Regions from separate parts of the Homo sapiens genome. Here region 1 is linked to region 2. Evidence: promoter capture Hi-C in human tissues and cell types (Jung and others, 2019). All regions are on one chromosome and are shown on one strand. Each heading gives the region's core, a stretch centred on a gene start or on the middle of the fragment in contact. The rest is flanking DNA. Distances are from core to core; before and after follow the strand shown.

Evidence for each region. The method cuts DNA at HindIII sites, captures the fragments that hold promoters and counts their contacts. A contact is called where the count stands out against the background at its distance.
Region 1: the fragment with the promoter of CYP4F22 here is called in contact with a fragment that was not itself captured in region 2 in 6 of the 25 tissues and cell types used here (aorta, bladder, dorsolateral prefrontal cortex and 3 more).

Annotation. Positions count from the first base shown.
Region 1 is chr19:15,507,209-15,511,254 of GRCh38, forward strand. CYP4F22 (cytochrome P450 family 4 subfamily F member 22) reads left to right here and starts at 1,317. Exons shown (of 14, transcript NM_173483.4): 1 at 1,317-1,375. RefSeq lists an enhancer at 961-1,461. The HindIII fragment of the contact is 20,579 bases long and covers 1-4,046 here.
Region 2 is chr19:15,100,892-15,104,966 of GRCh38, forward strand. No RefSeq gene overlaps it. Among named protein-coding and RNA genes, the nearest start is that of SYDE1, 4.5 kb to the right of the region's middle. The HindIII fragment of the contact is 6,045 bases long and covers 1-4,075 here.

The sequences.
Region 1 (4,046 bases), core at 67-2,566, 410 kb after region 2:
TTGAGCCCAGGAGTCACCCCAGCCTGGATGACAGAGTGAGACCAATCAACTAACAGGGGGCACCTCCCCTACTCAAGCACCATCCATGGCTCCCCACTGCCCACCAGATCAAGATCCAGCCATTCAAACTGGCCTTCACAGTCAACTCCTGCATCCCTCCAGCCTCCACACCTCTCACACTCCAAGGCCAGGGAAAGCCATCTGCTAAGTCACACCCTCCAGTTTCTCTGTGCTTGAGCTCTACCCCCTCTCCTGCACTTGTTGAAATCCAACCTCTCCATGCAGTCCCAGCTCAAGTGTCACATCCTCCACGTCGCCTTCCCTGACCTCATGTCTGCCTCCTCCAAGCAGCAAAACTTCAATTACTTGTGTCTCCTCTTCTTCACCAGGAGACATGCCCCACACCTCCCACGCCCTCTTTCCAAGGGCCCAGCACCAAATGAGAGCGTATTCTTAGAAAAAAGAGGGATAAGGAAGTCTTCTAAGTTTACCACCTGCTGGGGCAAGTGGAGATTCTTGTCTTCTCATCTGTCTGCCCACGTGCTAAGGTCAGCCACACATCCACCCACCGACTCCGGAGGACAGACACATCCAGAGGCGGAGCTGACTCTGTCTCCACACATCTGGAGTAGACGGGTTGGCCAAGGACAACATCCTGGTCAGAGGGTCAAGGTGTCTGGCAGTGGGTGGGGAGGAGTGGCGGAGGGCGGGTTGGCGGGGAGCAGAACCAGTCTGGTGCTGCTTGTTGAGGTTGGAGGTCTTCCTGGAGGAAGAGGCTGCAGAGCCTCCAGGGGTGGGTGCCGGGGAAGCTTAGGCCCAGGATCCAGAGAGAGGGGAAGGGCTGGTTCCCAAGGGCTGGTGGAGCCAGAGAATTCCTGAGGGCCCCAGAGGAGGCTTCTCGGGGGGGTCAGTGGGGCCCCAGGGGGTGATGGTTTAGAGATCGCTGTCCAAGCTTGGGAGCAAACCTGGAAGTAAGGGCCATGGGGGGTGTTGGTGTGGGAGGAGTGTGGTCCAGAGCGGGACTTGGGCGCTAATGCGGCCCAGCAGTGGCAGGAGGGCGGGGAGCCTGATGGTTTGGGACTTCTAGGTGTCCAAGTCTCTGTCTCTCTTCATCTCTCCATCTCAGTCTCAGTCTCTCTCTCTTTCCATCGCTCTCCACCCCTCCACACGCCTATTTCTTGTTCTCTCCTTTTCTAGGGGGCAGCGCTGGAGTCCCCGCCCAGAACCCTGCGGGAGCCCGGGGCGGGATGTCCGGGGGCGGACCCCTCGGCACGGCCGGGCGGGGTTAAAGGGTTGGGCCGTGGGACGGCGCGGTCAGATCCCAGGTAGTGGCGCCGGTGGATCCGGATCGAGGGCAGGAGGCTGAGACCCGCGGGTGAGTGCGCGCGTGGTGAGGGCTGTAACCTGAGCGCGGCCGCGGCGCTGCGCTGGAACCCGAGGCTCGCGCGGTTCGGTGCTGGCGGGGCAAGGGCGAAGGTCTGCGCGCGGCGGCGGGCGGGGCGCAGCCGGCCACGGGGACCCCCCCAGGACCCAGGACGGGGCTGCATGCCCGGGGCACTCGTGGGGAGAGGGGCACGTGGGTGTGTCCCCGACGTTTGCTGCATTTGTGAGTTGTTTTCTTTTTTTTTTTTTCTGTGTGCGCCTCGGAGTCCTAGGCGCATCCTTTTCTCTGGGTATCTGTGATGGGCAGGGGGCCTCCAAAAGACCCCTCTGGTAGTCAGGACATCCCAGATGGGTTCAAGCCCCGCCCTGGGACGCCTCTTTGGGGCTGAATGGGGATTCGCCCTGAGATTTCACCACTGCACGTTGTCTTGACGGGGAGGTTGTAGTACATTCAACCGATGGGGTTAGGCTTGTGGTTCAACTGCTATCAGGAACCCTCTGCCCATCCATGCCAGACGCAGAGCCCCTCTATGAAAAGACGGTGTTCTTCTGGCCCCGAGAGTTGGCTCTGAGGGTTGTGTGAGGTCCTGGGGTTGGTCCCAGGTGATCTTCGTCTGATAGATGCTGGAAGGAAGATGTTTTCTGGCCTCCCAGGGGCCTGGCCCAGCCTGGGTATGCAAGTTGGCCGAGGCTGGCCACCTGGGGAGTCGCAGGCTGGAGAGGCCTAGGCTCAGGGCATCTCTCCTGGTTCATCTGCCCGCTCACAGCTCATTCATGCACTCATTGTGAGTCTCACCGCCCTGTAGGCAAAGGAGATGGCCAGGGCTGGCTGCGTACCCGAAATTCCTCCTACCCTGTGCCCCTTGCTCCACCCCTTATTTCTAGGTCCTGGAGCTGTGCCCAGCCAGGGCTGGCAGCATCAAACTCCTTCTTGTGTAACTCCAAACCCCAAAGAGAAGGAACCTCCCCAAATCTTCCCTACCACCCTCATTTTACAGGCACGGAAACTGAGGGCCAGAGAGAAGAAGCCTGTGCCTGTGGATACCCAGTGCCCAGTGGGAGAGCTGGGATTTGAAAAAACAAGCCCTGTTTGACCCCAAAGCCTCAGTCCACTTTCCGATGTCCCCGGCATCACCAAATGGCCCAGCTTGGGTTTCTGAACAGTAACATTAACTCTGGCCTGGTGTCTGGCGGTGACCCAGGTTGGTATCTGCAGAGGGGCTTGGATGACTTGAGAGGCATTCAGGGAATGGGACCCATCTCTCCTTCCTTCCTTCCTTCCTTCCTTCCTTCCTTCCTTCCTTCCTTCCTTCCTTTCTTTCTTTCCTTCCTTCTTTCTTTCTTTCTTTCTTTCTTTTCTCTGTCTCTCTCTCTTTCTTTCTTTCTTTCTTTTTTTGTTGTTGTTGTTGAGACAGGGTCTCACTTTGTCACCCAGGCAGGAGTGCAGTGGCATAATCATAGCTCACTGCAGCCTCGATCTCCTGGGTTCAAGCAATCCTCCTACCTCAGCCTCCTGAGTATGGAGGACTACAGGCATGCACCACCACTCCTGTCTACTTTTTGTATTTTTGGTAGGGATGGGGTTTCACCATGTTGCCCAGGCTGGTCTTGAACTCTTGGGCTCAAGTGATCCACCCGCCTCAGCCTCCCAAAGTGCTGGGATTACAGGCATGAGCCACTGCGCCTGACTCATCTCTCCTTGTTGATAAAACTTGGACCTGATTCTCCAAACCCCAGATGGCCAGGTCACAATAATGAACGTGATGGCAGCACCAACGGTAATGAGAGATATCATTGATCAAAGGCTTACTATGTGCCTGGAAGATTGCAGCCCCATGAGGTGGGTAAATAGGGCTTCTGTCTTAATGGATGAAGAAATTGAGGCTCAGAGAGGTGCAGACACTCACCCGAGGTCGCACAGCAAAGAGGCAGACCTTTATAGAATCTTTTCTGAGGCTCATGTCCAGGTGTGGCCACACTTGGGATGGTGGGCAGAAACAATTACAACCCTGCAATGGTCTAGATTATTAGTGGTTTTAAAACTTCTTTTTCTGCCAGGATCCCCTTTGGGCCAAGGAAATTATTAGCAAAAGGTTTGAATATGATCAAAGCTGCGATAGGACTGTCTCCTTTACCACATTTGCCAACTTGGCCCTGCCCTCATTAGTCATAAATGACTCTGAAGCTCTTTCTCAGAACCTTAGAAATTTAGAGTGCTGAGTGGAGACTGAAGACCTAGAAGCCAGGCTGAGTGTGGTGGCTCATGCCTGTAATCCCAGCACTTTGGGAGGCTAAGGCTGGAGGATGGTTTGAGCCCAGGACTTTGAGACCAGCCTGGGGAATATAGGGATACCATATATATATATATATATATATTTTTTTTTTTTTTTTTGAGATGGAGTTTTGCTCTTGTTGCCCAGGCTGGAGTGTAATGGCGTGATCTTGGCTCACTGCAACCCCTGCCTCCCGGGTTCAAGCTGTTCTCTTGCCTCAGCCTCCTGAGTAGCTGAGACTACAGGCATGTGCCACCATGCCTGGCTAATTTTGTATTTTTAGTAGAGATGGGGTTTCTCCATGTTGGTCAGGCTGGTCTCGAACTCCCGACCTCAGGTGATCCTCCCTCCTCCCAAAGTGCTGAGATTACAGGCATGATTACAGGCATG
Region 2 (4,075 bases), core at 983-3,482:
CAGAGACCACTCTGGAGGTGGCATGGAGCAACTATGGACCCCTCCTGCACCTCAGTTTCAGCTCTATAGCTGTCTGGCCAGATTTTTCCAAGGGTCAATGGGAGGCTCTGGTCAAGCAATGCTGTACCACTGACTGTCACCCAGGTGAGACTGTGCCCTGCCTCAGGAAGCTGCTTTATGCTAACAGAATTCATAACCATTTCATTATATACAATCATCCCCTCTCCCTCCAGCTCCTGAATGCTACTGTGATGGATATCTCTGGGCAGCCACCCCTTTGCTGGTTCCTCTGAGGTCTGACTTCCAGCCAGGGAGGCCTAGGCAGGCTGAGGTATTCACCTTCTTCTCCTGGAAGATGCCAGATAGACGCAAGCCTCAGGTGTGGAAACAAATGGGAATGACCACAGCGGGTGGAGGAAGCTTGGGTCCTGCTCCCCAAAACCTTCTCTATCTCCCATCCCCCAGGAACTGAGCACCCCAGGGAGCTGGTAGAATGGAGATGTAGCCCCACAGAACCACGCCCCATGCCCATAGCCTTGAAAACAGCCTAATTTATTATTCCCTTTGCACATGAAACAGAGGCCTAGACAGAATGTCTGTGTTTGGAGTCCACCAGAAGCCAACCTTGAGACAAGGATTCAAGTATTTAGGAAATAAACAGGAAATACTGTAAGTGGGGTGGATATGTGGGAGAGGGAAGGGAAGGAAGTCAGCAAAGAGTGTATTGATAACCAGGTTTCTACAGTGGACAGCTGGAGCTCAATCCCGTGGGTGAACACTAGGGGTCAGTGTAGAACATGAACCTCAATCATCCAACACAAGGGTGAGGGAGCTGGGGTATTTATCCATCAATTCCCCTTGACTACCACAGAGGTGCTGAGCTCTGCCCAAAACTGACAGGAAATGGTCTTTTGGTCTTTCAACTAATTGGTCTATATGTGTCTGGGGCTGGTTAATCCACCAGGTACCAAAAGCACAGCACATCAGACCTGCAGCCAATGAGAACATTTAGGGGAAAGAAAACACACACGTGGCCAGGTGCAGTGGCTCACACCTGTAATCCCAGCACTTTGAGAGGCCAAGGAAGAAGGATCGCTTGAGGTCAGGAGTTTGAGACCAGCCTGGGCAACATAGCAAGATCCTGTCTCTACAAAAAAAATTTAAAAGCTAGCTGGGTATGGCAGTGCATGCCTATAGGCCTAGCCACTCAGGAGGCTGAGGCAAGAGGATTGCTTGAACCCAGAAGTTCAAGTCTGCAGTGAGCTATGATCACACCAATGCACACCAGCTTGGGTGACAGAGGGAGATTATGTCTCTAAAAATAATAAGGCCAAGCACGGTGGCTCACACCTGTAATCCCAGCCACTTGGGGGGCCAAAGTGGGAAGATCACTTGAGCCCAGAAGTTTGAGAACAGTCTAGGCAACATGATGAGACCCTATCTCCACAAAAAAATAGAAAAATCAGCCTGTGGCATGGTGGCACATGCCTGTAGTTCCAGTTGCTTGGGAGGCTGAGGCAGGAACATCACTTGAGCCTAGGAGGTTGAGGGTGCAGTGAGTTGTGGTAGTGCCACTGCACTACAGCCTGAGCAACAGAGCAAGAAAAATAAATAAAATAATAATAATAAAGTAAATAAAAATAACATGAAAATAATTTTTAAAAAATTTGAGACAGAGTCTTAGTCACCCAGGCTGGAGTGCAGTGGCACGATCTTGGCTCACTCCAACCTCTACCCTCTGGGTTCAAGCGATTCCCCTGCCTCAGCCTCCCGAGTAGCTGGGATTACAGGTGCCTGCCACCATGCCTAGCTAATTTTTATATTTTTAGTAGAAACGGGGTTTCACCATCTTGGCCAGGCTAGTCTTGAACTCCTGACCTCGTGATCCACCCGCCTCAGCCTCCCAAAGTGCTGGGATTACAGGCATGAGCCACAGTGCCCGGCCATGAAAATAAATTTTTTTAAAAGAAAAGAAAATGGGCCAGGCACGGTGGCTGACCCCTGTAATCTCAGCTCTTTGGGAGGCCAAGGTGGATGGATCACAAGGTCAGGAAATCGAGACCATCCTGGCCAACATGGTGAAACCCCATCTCTACTAAAAATATAAAAATTAGCTGCACGTGGTGGTGTGTGCCTGTAATCCCAGCTACTCAGGAGGCTGAGGCAGCAGCATCGCTTAAACCAGGGAGTCACAGGTTGCAGTAAGCCAAGATCGTGCCACTGCACTCCAGCCTGGGCAACAAAGCAAGACTATGTCTCTATAAAAGAAAAGAAAAGAAAATGTACGCATACAGGCTCTAAAATCTGTACAGCAACTAGCAAAATCCACAGGAATAAGCATACAAACATCATTATGAAACTTAGAATTCATAACCATTTCATTACATACAATTTGCAGATAATCTGTTCTCACTTATGGAAATTTCTGATTGCTAAGAAAGAATCAGAGCCAATGGTGAATTAAATAGGCTACATGCAGGCAAATAAAGACAACAGGAAAAGTACAAAAACTCAAAAAGATTTACACAAAATAATAATAATAAATATTTATGTGGTATGTGGGTGTCATATGGGTGGGGCTAAGGGTTGCTCTCACTCCCATGTCAGACCCCAGCTCCTCTGAGACTCTGAAATACCCCATTGGGACCTTAGTCCTGCAGCCTCTACCCTCAACTTGTAAACAGGTATTGTCTTGACCCCTGACTTCTTTCCCCATTGTCAATAGCTGCCTCAAAGACATCTGCGCAGGGATCTCATAGGGAGGAGGGTGCACTCCACCCTTTTACAGACTGATGCCCCCCAAACACACATATCCAAGAAAAGTGAACAGCACCTAGGAGAACTGTATATCAACAGTTGTATAATGAGTATACCAATATATGCATAATGAGAGTCCCAGAAGGAGAGAAGTGAAAGGAGCAGAAAGAATATTTGATGAGGCTGGGTATGGTGGTTCATGCCTATAATCCCAGCACTTTGGGAGGCCAAGGTGGGCAGATCACTTAAGGTCAGAAATTTGAGACCGGCCTGGCCAACATGACGAAAACCCATCTCTACTAAAAATACAAAAATTAGCTGGGCATGGTGACAGGCACCTGTAACCCCACCTACTTGAGAGGTTGAGGCAGGAGAATCACTTGAACCCAGAAAGCAGAGGTTGCAGTGAGCCAAGACCATGCCTCTGCACTCCAGCCTGGGCAACAGAGTGAGACTCCATCTCAAAAAATAATAATAATAATATTTGATGAAATAATGGCCAAAAAACTTCCCAGAAGCCCAGAATTGATGAAAGACATGAATCTACATATCCACAAAGCTCAACAAACTCCAAGTACAATAAACACAGAGAACCACACAAAGACACATTAAAACCAAACACACACAGCCTCCTCGTCCAGGCCTCTTGGACACCCCCTCCTATACAGACCTCCATCACCTGACACCTGATCTCCTACCTGAATATTCAGCAGTGAACAACATAGACAAGCATCACTTGATCACTTGGTGGAGACCCAGTCTGGACGAGGAGGCAGATAAACTAGAACAAACCACTGGGACTGTTAAATTCAAGTTGTGGCAAGTGTTAGAAGAAAGGAAACTGAGTAATGTGATACTGACTAGACAGAGGTGGTGGACAGAAAGGGTCTCCCTAGAAGGTGCCATTGGACCTAAAGGATGAGAGAGAGGTGGCCTCAGAAGAACCAGGGCTTCCCAGGCAGAAGGAACCATGTGTGCAAAGGACCTGAGGCAGAAATAGCTTGATATGAAGGAGAACCAGAAAGGAGGCCATGGTGAGTGAATGGGACAGCCAAAGAGATGAGGCTGGAAGTCTTGTGAGACCATGCTGGGAATCTGAATTTTATTCTAGGTGAGGTGAGCAGTCATAGGAACACTATTCAGCAGGATGGTGCCACAATCTGATTTCAGTTTTAAGTCCACTGTGGGTAATATATGGAGAATGAAATGTAGGGCTAAGACAGGTTATATTTTCCCAGATGGCCACAATATCTCCCACCCTACATCCACTTGTACAATGTCACCTTGACATGCCTCCCATGTAGAGAGGTATAATCTG